2 separate regions of the Homo sapiens genome follow, and region 1 is linked to region 2. The links are contacts of gene promoters, found by promoter capture Hi-C in blood cells and fetal thymus (Javierre and others, 2016). All regions are on one chromosome and are shown on one strand. Each heading gives the region's core, a stretch centred on a gene start or on the middle of the fragment in contact. The rest is flanking DNA. Distances are from core to core; before and after follow the strand shown.

Region 1 (4,930 bases), core at 762-3,261, 140 kb after region 2:
TCATTACATAAAGCCCATAATAATTTACTGTATTTTTACTCAATTTGTCCTCAAATTCCCTTCCCAGAGCCCATGGTTACTCAAGGTACTAGAAGAGTTAAGAAGATACTCTTCATAGAAAAACAAAAACCAAGGTATAGAGAAGAGATACGAGGTTTAGGGAAAGTAACCAATAAAAGAGACTTTACAGTCACAGCACAGCAAAGAAACATTGAGCCCAGACCATGAAAAGAGATGAAACTCAGTGGCAAAATCGGGGAGGCAGAGGGAGGAAGGTCCACGAATTCCTCTGAATGCAAAGTTACAGGCACTACCACCACAGGTGAACTGAATGTGGCAGTAGTGAAATGCTATTACAACTAAATCACATTTCTCCAAAGGAAGCTTGTGCTTTTATTCCAAACTTTTTACAGATCCTATACACATTCAGAGAACTATTAAATACCACTGCACATGTGGTCACTATGGTAAGCCAGACGTCCACTCACATGGGATCGACATATGCCGAATGGCTGATAAAAATCTTCCCTTATTTGATCACTTATCATCTCACCGAGAGGGTGGCAGGCATCCTTTTCTTTGCAAGGGCATTGAGCCAGAGAACATTCCTCTGTGTCTTTACATTTAATAAACCACCATGTCATAGTTGGCAAATCAAAGTAGTGAAATCACTGAAGAAAGATCTGATTCCTTCCTCTTCTTTGTCATTTACTATAACTGCAGACCAATGACCTTGCTTTCCGTACTATTAAAGGCAAGCACACCCACAACCAGCAGAGTAAATGGTACAACTACCCTCCGTGGTGCAGAGAACTGTTGCTACCTGCCCTGTCCATGACGCTGGCTACCTTACCAAAACATGGTCTGGACGTCGGAACTACTCGAGTTATTTAATCAGCCCACTTCACCTCCCCATCAATGCTGTCATGACTACCATTCAGCAAAGCCTTCTGAGCACTCTCCTTAAACATGCCACTCCATTCCATTCCAAAGGCCTTTGGACTCTAACTGCCACAAACAGGCTTTCTTTAACAATAAAACCAAGTTATCAGGCAACTATTCTAAATGGTTTTTATGAGGATTTGGTTCTAAAAGTACCTTCAGATAGCCAAGACGTAGGAACGCATCTTGCAGTTGGGGACAGGAGGGGTTTGAGTGTGTGTGGGTGGGAGGGAGACATGGGATGAAGTTGTTTTCATTATGGAGCATTTTCTTTGTGTGAATAAATTAGCAAGTGACATTAAAACAAACAAACAACAACAACAAAAAAAACAGGCTTTTGTTACAGATAAGGTATGCCCCTCACTTTGTAGAAAGGGCCAAGGCTGTGTCGGGTACTTCATTTCTTCCCCCAAACTCTCCCACCTTGGAACCAATGGGTGTTAGTGGTAACCGGGCTTGAGGTGACAGTTCTAAGAAGAGGCGACATTTACTCCGCCTTTATGACCTGCCGGGCAGCCATCGCTCATGGCTCTGCCAATATCACCTCTCCCTGCCCCTTGGCAACACACTGAAAGCACGTTTGTCTCCATCTGGACAAAGCGGCCAGTGCAGGGCAGAGCATGCCACAGCGTGCCAGTGCCACCACAGCCAAGGACGGGATGGACAGAGAGGGGACCCGCTCAGTGTGCTCCATGTGGGACAGACAGAGCCTTTGGGGACGTCTCGACCTGCAAAGGCCTCATCTACCTGTCCTTTAGGGGTGACTGCAAGGGCGAGTGGCACACTGGACAGAAGCCACATGTGGGCCTCCTGCCCTGCTAAGCCCACTAAGAGGTCAGCACGTGATCCCAGGGGCCCTTGGTGTCTGCTGGGCTGCTGCCTCTCGCAGGACACTACCTCCCAGATGACAGACACCAAGACCTGTCCCCAGATCCCTGCGCCCTCAAGTCTCAAGAGAGGACATTCCCAGAGTCTGCTCTCAAAATCTCACCAGAACACTCTTCTTTCCAAGCCAATAGCAAACTGGGAATTCAACCAGTGTAGATCAACCTTTTCTCCTAAAGCTCAGGGCTTTCAATTTGGTGGATCTCATTACAGCTGCTCTGTTTTAAAAAATAAAAGTCTACATCATTTGTGGAACCGATAAAAAAATAAAAGTCATTTAAACTTCATCGTTAAGGCTAATGCTAACTTCTCAATTCCTTGAACCTCAAAATAAACTTAACCTGTACAGTGTGGATCCCACTGCATAGCACATACAGGTCCTCCAGAGACCCCAAAACAACACAAAAATAAGCTAAACATTCTCTGTAAGTCTTACTATATTAGAAACCATCACTATTTGCAAACATTGATTCATCTGATTAAATTAGCTAAACCACACACTAAGGCAAAACCCCAATAGAAGTAACTTTCCCCAAAATAAAACAATTCTGATCTATGTGGTTTTCTTTTTTCTCCTGATTTTACTTAATAAAAACAATAAGCTGGCCGGGTGCAGTGGCTCACGCCTGTAATCCCAGCACTTTGGCAGGCCAAGTGGGGCAGATTTCTTGAGGCCAGGAGTTCAAGACCAGCCTGGCCAACATGGCGCAACCCCATCCCTACTAAAAATACAAAAATTAGCCAGGTGTGGTGGCACACGCCTGTAGTCCCAGCTACTGGGGAGGCTGAGGCACGAGAATCGCTTGAACCCGGGTGGCGAAGGTTGCAGTGAGCCGAGATCTTGCCACTGCACTCCAGCAACAGAAGGAGACTCTGTCTCAAAAAAATAGAAAAAATAAAATTAAATAAAAAAAAATAAAAACAATAAGCTGGGCATGGTGGCATGCACCTGTAGTCCCAGCTACTCAGTAGGCTGAGGCAAGAGGATCACTTGAGCCCAGGAGTTTGAGGCTGCAGTGAGCTATGATTGTGCCTGTCAGTAGCCACCGCACTCCAGCCTGGGCAACAGAGCAAGATTTCATCCTTCCTTCCTTCCCATCCTCCCTCCCTCCCTCTCTCCTTTCTTTCCTTCACTCATAATAAAATAAATAAATGAAATAAAAACAATAATGGAAAATAGCCTAAACCAGTCAGGGTCTCCTTTGTTTTAACAAGAAAATAAGCACAGTAGCAAACAGCCATTAGACCCCAAATGCTCACAGAATAGAAATACCCACTCCTGAATCACAGACAAAGACATCAGACAGCCTCGAAGGCATGGGTTTCACCTGACGTCCTCCAGTGTCCCCACTAAGGAGCATGCCCTCCATCTGACCATGCACCATTTCTGCCTCAGGAGTAGTTCTGGAGGGGGTGGGGTGCTGGGGGAGTGGGGTGGGGGTGTAAACCTGCTGACGTCTTAGGCGGCCCCTTACTGCTGCCACCGTTGCGAGTAGCAGCTCCCGGAACATCTGTGCTAATCAACCTTAGGGCTGCAGGGCCACCTGCTCCAGGACAGCTCCAAGGAGCCAGCAGCAGAGGGGGGCACAGCACAATGTGGGCTTGGAGCAGCAGTCAGGGCACCTTAGCAATGCCCAAGACGGGACGCATGTTGTAAGAAACCAGCTCCTAGCAAACATGAGTGCTCTCCCTCGACATGCAGCCTCTTCTCTTCAAATGCAGGACCACACCACATGGTCTCGCAAACCCTTGCAGCCTGATGCAGAAAACCCTTCCCTCTGCTGCTAAGCTGCTCCTGAATGCAAGCTTAGTGGATGTAATTAGATTCACAAGAGGGTTTAGGGCTGCCAGCAAAGAGGCAGGAAGTGACATGAATCAACCCTATCCACGATTTGGCCCCCACAAAATGACTCGCAACACATGACCGGTTCAAGAGAAACTGCCCAGAGTGGGGTCTGTGACAAGGTGGCAGGTGGATTTGCTGTAAACAAAACTAATATTATAATGCATATTTGGGGAAAAAGCCAAAAGGGTAATTGCAAAGCTTTAGAAAATAATTTATGATGTGATATTTAAAAGAAATTTTCCCTAGGGTGTTTGAAATTACAGGTGCTTTTTAGAAGCTGAACTTAACAGCCATTTGCCTCTGAAGGGAGAAAAATGGATGACTCTGTCCCTAGAGCTGTTAACGCAGATTTCAGAGAGAAGACAGCAACAGGCAACAGCCACGGTCCCTGGCACCGAGTGGATAGGATGAGCCCAGCTAAGCTAGGAGCTGCCGTCCCCTTCTCGGTCCTTCCCCACCCTCCCAACCCTGCTTCCTCTCCTCCGGAGCAGCTTGAGGGCATCAGGCAGACCTCCCTTTTGCACTAACCCAACTGGGCTAAGTTAATGAGGAAAATGCCAAAGGGTCACCCGGTTTCTGGCCTTAACCTTCCCAAGAACTTGTGCTTAAGGCCAGCAAGCGGTAGATCCGCTGCTAATGCCCAGCGAAATAGCCTGTGGCTCTGTGTGAAGATTCCAGAGCCCAGATCCATTCAAGACCTGCCCAGGACTCTCCAGGGGTGGGCCTGGGCACCTAGGAAAACAGTGCAGTGGAAAAAAACTGGACACACACATACACATAATAAAAGGCTACATGTCTGCCCTGAACTTTCCTGCAAGGAGCACTCCCCTGCCAAGTAGAGACAGAACAACAAACCGCCTGGGAAGAAAGAGAAAAGCAAAACTGCCAGCCTCAGCCTCTCCTCCTGACCTAACCGACAGATCTGACTCCTGGGCAGCACCCCTCCCCTGACATCTCGGGCCGTGGATGCCACCTGGACCTCACAAGGAAGAACATACATGCACTTGGTAGGGCTGATTGTTACAAGTTCTTTGTCTCCAGCTCCCACTGCCCTGGGCGAGAGGAAGCGCTGGCCCTCATTTGTCTGCGGAGATAGTGATCCGCCTGTCTCCTCCCGCATCGCTTTCCCAGCACCAGCTTCTCAACGACCACAAGGTCCACGTTGCCCATGCCTGTGAAACAAGATGCCACCGCTTTGTGAAAGTGGCCCATCGCAATCCTATCCTGGCTGCCTGGTCCCCTGGTCCCCACACATAC
Region 2 (4,755 bases), core at 740-3,239:
ACTCAGAGAAATCTTCAAACAATTCAGCAGCTTCTCTCCTCAAAAGTTTATTTTCAGACGCCAGTGCCATGCAGGCCGCCTTCCCTGTGCAGGTAGGAGGAAGCAGGCACAATGTCACCACACTGGGCCTTTGCAAGTCTTCAAATCACTGGGAAGCCTGTGGTGTTTCCTTTTTGGCACTCAGGCCCTGGAAGGAGAGTTGCTCTAGAGAGGACAAGACATCAGATAACCTGTGGAAACACTTGATGTCCACAGAAATCCCAATTCCACACAAAATACATCTCTGTAAAAGCAGTTGAACAATCGAAACCCGTAGACAATCGAGCAAAAAGTTAAGGAAGAGCTTCGTTACATGGAATTAATTAAATGAAATCTGATAGTGCTTTTACAAGAATCAGTTTTTACTTGATTGGGTTTTTATACGTGAATAAGACAGCTTTGTACCCCATGCATATCTTTCACAAAAAGGAAACTTAAAATACAATTCTTGTTTTTCGTTTATTCCAAAAGCATATGGGACTAATCATATTGCATTCTGGCTGCAGTACAGAAGGCTATTTCAAACAGTTTTAACTCACGAGTTTTAAGGCGCTAAAGAGCAACTAGAGTTTGGGAACAGACTTCTCCAACTCCAAAAGGGTTGGGAATCCCTCAAGGGCCCGTCTGACATCAGGTTTTGGATGGAAACCAGCCTGAACCCGCCAGACAGGGAACCCGCACCCCAAAGCTGGGGCGCACGTTTGTGATCCAAGGTGACAGCTCATCTCGCCACCGCGGGGCTGGGGACACCTGCAGAACCAGGGCCGGGGCAGTGGGCCGCAGACGCCCGGGACCGGGATGGGCGAGGCTGCCGCAGAGAAAGGAAAAGAGGGCCATCTGTCAGCCCCAGGAGAGGAAATTCCAGGAGCCCAGTTCCCAGGCGCCGGACAGCGGGTGACGTGAGGGAACCGAATGAGAGGGTCCGCCCAGCGGCGGGGGACCTGTAGGCGGCCGGCCTCGGCGCTCAGAGGGCTCGAGGCCTGGAGAAGGGGCACCTCCATTCTTGGTCAGAGCCCTGGGAGTCGGGGTATTGGGAGGGTGGATCCTCTCCCGGACCCCCGGAACCAAAGATCTTCACCCAGCCCCGAGGGCCTCCTGGTGTCTCCGATCCTCTCCCTGGGCCCAAGGGATGGGGGCGCCTCGATCGTAGCCTGGACCGGAGCACTCCAGGGAGTCCCCTGGTTCCGGGGATGGAGGCGCTCCGAGCTCTGCCCGGGCCCGGGGGCTCTCGGCGGCGGCCCCGCGCTGGGCGGGGCGTGTCCCCAGCGCATCCGCGGTGGCGCCGGCCGGCGGCCCGGGTCGTAGCGCCCGCGCCGGGTCTGGCGCCCCCAGCCGGCCCGCTTACCGGTCGCGGGGGTCGATCCACGACGTCTGGCGCGTGTTGTGGTCAATGTAAAAGACGCGACCGTCGTAGTCTCGCGCCTCCTCCCAGCCGGCGGGCAGCGGCAGCTCGGCGCTCTCCCGGGCCCGCGGCGGCGGCGCGGAAGGAGCTGGGGGCGTGGGGACCGCGGCGGGGGGCGCCGGCGGCGCGGTTCCCGCTGGGGCTGCGCAGAAGGCGGCGGCTCCCGCGGGGCCTCGCGCGGCTGTCCCCGCCGTCGCCGCCGGCCGCCGCTCAGCCAAGGCATGACGGCGCGGGCCCCGCCGCCGCCCGGCCGCCCCGCGCGCGCCGCCTCCTCCGCCAGCACTAAGGCCCGGCGCCCGGGGCGCGGGGGCGGCCGCGGGGAGCCGCCCGCCGCTCCTGGCGCATCCTCCGCCCGGCGCCCGTGCACCGGCGTCCGCCCGCCCGCCCTAGCAAGCCGCTGCCCGCGCCGCCCACTCCGTTCAGGTAGCCCGGGTGGCCGCCGCGCGCGAAGTCACAGCCCGGGAGCCGCCGCCGCCGCCGCCGCCGCTGCCGGCCGCCCCTCCGTTCCCGCGGCGCGCCCGGCCATCTTCGTTCCTCGGCGCGGCCCGGGCGAGCAGGGGCAGGGCGTTCGCAGGCCCCGCCTCCGGCCGTCCCGCCCCGTTCTCACCCAGGCCCCGCGGCTCCTCCCACGCCGGCGGCTCCACCCACGCCGGCTGCTCCTCCCGAATCTCCCACGGAGGCTCCCGCTCCTCCCGCCGCCTCTGCTTTTCCACCCACTCCCGCTGCTCCGCCTCCCCCGGCCCCGCGTCCTCCGCGCCTCTCCGTCGCCGGCTGCTCCGCCCCCAGTCTCCCTCGGGGTCCTCCTCGGCGCTCGGCTCCTCGACCCCACCCCCACCCCTCCGCTTGCTCCTCCCCCTCCGCCGTCCTCCCTCTCCGCGCGCTCCTCGCTCTCTCCCTCCCGCTCCGCCACCTTCCTCCGGCCTCGGGAAACCGCATGGAGGCCAGGATGGGCGCCGCCGCGTCAGTCCGCCCCCGGGCCCCCGCGTAGAGGAAGGCGGGCGGGGAGGACGACGCCCTACCCGGACTGCGGGCGCGGCCTGCCTGGGGTGACTCCTCGGGCGCAAACAATTCCCGAGAGAGCGGGCAGTGCCCTCCCTTCACCCGCTCCCGGGCTCTGGCTGTCTGGAGACCCTCTGCGCACTTGGCGGGAGGCTGCGCCCTCGGTCTCCCACACAACCCGTCTGGTCCCGCGAAGGTGGGAAAAGCCCCTGAAGGCGGGGCCGAGGGAGCTGAGGAGCTGGGGGAGCCCGCGGCCGGTCCTCTCGGGCGGCGCAGGGAGGACGCCTCTGGAAGCGGGCAGCTGGGCAGGTGGCCACTTTGCGTCCCCGCCAGGACAGCCCTAGAAGGGCTAACCTGGGGGCCCACACTAGGCGGGAGTTCCTTGACCTTCCCTGAGCGCTTCATCCGGTTTGTGGGGTCTGATCGTTTGAGCGGAGACCCAAGTAGACCATTGCTGGGGAGGAAGCCGGGTCAACTCCTAAAACTTTCAGCCTAGACGGGAACTTCTGTTTCACTGGCTCCCAGCTGGGGAAGCTGAAGCTCCAGAGTTGGGGCTGTGTCTTGCTCTAAATCTCCCACCTACTTCGTGCCCCAGACCCACAGCCGCAACACGTTATGCCAGGAAATGCAGGACAGTATCAGGGAGATTTTTAAACAGTTACAGTGATACAAAAATATCTGGTAGAGCCTGATTGAAATCCAGATACACAGGGGAAGAGACTGGAGGAAAATGTCCTGAAATGCTCACAAGAGTTTGCATTCCTTTGGCGGGATTTTTAAAAATGATTTGCCTTCCAATTTTTTGTAAAATGGTAATATTACTTTTATGAGGGGAAAGGTTGTTTTAAAAAAGAAGAATGGGCCGGGCGCGGTGGCTCACGCTTGTAATCCTAGCACTTTGGGAGGCCCAGGCGGGCGGATCACGAGGTCAGGAGTTCGAGACGAGCCTGGCCAGCATGGTGAAATCCCCGTCTCTACTAAAAATACAAAAATTAGCCGGGCATGGTGGCGCACGCCTGTAATCCCAGCTACTCGGGAGGCTGAGGCAGGAGAACTGCTTGAACCTGGGAGGTTGCAGTGAGCTGAGATCGCGCCACTGCACTCCAGCCTGGACGACAGAGTGAGACTCCATCTCAACAACAACAAAAAAAAAATTAGAAGAATGTGGGGCCGGGCTCGGTGGCTCACACCTTTAATCCCAACACTTTGGGAGGCTGAGGTGGGAGGATCACTTGAGCCAGGGAGGTCGAGGCTGCAGTGAGCCGTGTTTGCACGATTGCACTCCAGGCTGGGCGATGGAACAGAGACCCTGTCTCAAAAAAAAAAAAAAAAAAAAAAAAAGAAGAAGAAGAAGAAGAAGAATGTGAAGTTGTGAAGGTATAGCGACGTCCAAAAAACTATCCAAGGAAGGTCTTTCCTCTCCCTCCTCCTACTACAACACAGAAACTTTCTTGCTCCCCAAGTATCTATCTACCCCTACCTGAATGTTCTATGTGAGAAATTCCACCGCATGAGTCCTTTTAAACATGTGTGATTATTACATGTCCAAGGGAAAGAGTGGGAGGGTCAAAAAAGCACATATTTTGTGATGTCGCATGTGCCAGGGAATGCCCCAAGTGCTGAGTGTCCCTGCTCTGACATCTTCCCTTCCGATTGGCATGATTTATCGCCAGTGGGGCTGCCACTGCCTTCTTACCTTACCACCCAACATGGCCGTTCTGAAGCTGCATTTCCACCCTCCCTGTCACCTGGTCCTTTTAGAATCTCACAAATCTGGACACAAATCTATCACTCGAAAGTACTTTGAATGGGGCTGGGGCGTATTGGAGTGAAACCGACTTCTGCAGAGAGAGAGTGGAAAGAGGAGAACACATACACCACACATCAAAGGACTCAGAAGGAAAGGCAAGATGAAAAAAGCATCAGGTAGAGCAAGGAGTGGGGGAAACTGCATCCAATTAGGAGCTCAAAGAGGCCAGCGCCGAGGAGTCTTCACTGAAGGTGAAAGATTTCTACCCGTTCAGGCGGGCAGCAAATAGTGGACCTCCCACGCGCAGACACTGTGCTGCGTGTAGGCATGCTGCAGGGAAGAGGATAGTCTGTGCTTCAGCTTGCACTCCCTTGGGGACTAAACATAGAAATAGGCCCTTGTAATACAATTGTCACTTGTCAACAAATGAAGCCAGGGTGCCAACCTCAATTTGGGGACTCGTGGGAGGCTTTGTGAGACCAAAGGGAAGGTGCCTCAGATGAGGAAACTGAGGCTCAGATGTTCAGATTCCCAAGTTCTGAGCTCTTGCCCCTTGGCACATGGA

Evidence for each region. The method cuts DNA at HindIII sites, captures the fragments that hold promoters and counts their contacts. A CHiCAGO score of 5 or more calls a contact.
Region 1: a contact is called between a fragment that was not itself captured here and the fragment with the promoter of WWC3 in region 2, in 2 of 17 cell types (neutrophils and monocytes). The highest score is 6.7, in neutrophils.

Annotation. Positions count from the first base shown.
Region 1 is chrX:9,877,062-9,881,991 of GRCh38, reverse strand. The region is part of intron 2 of SHROOM2 (shroom family member 2); the gene reads right to left. Among named protein-coding and RNA genes, the nearest start is that of CLDN34, 88 kb to the left of the region's middle. The HindIII fragment of the contact is 3,249 bases long and covers 387-3,635 here.
Region 2 is chrX:10,012,488-10,017,242 of GRCh38, reverse strand. It overlaps WWC3 (WWC family member 3), which reads right to left and starts at 1,989. Exons shown (of 24, transcript NM_015691.5): 1 at 1,570-1,989; 2 at 1,385-1,567. The coding sequence starts at 1,664. RefSeq lists silencers at 2,017-2,076, 2,117-2,286 and enhancers at 2,107-2,990, 2,991-3,874. The HindIII fragment of the contact is 8,733 bases long and covers 1-4,755 here.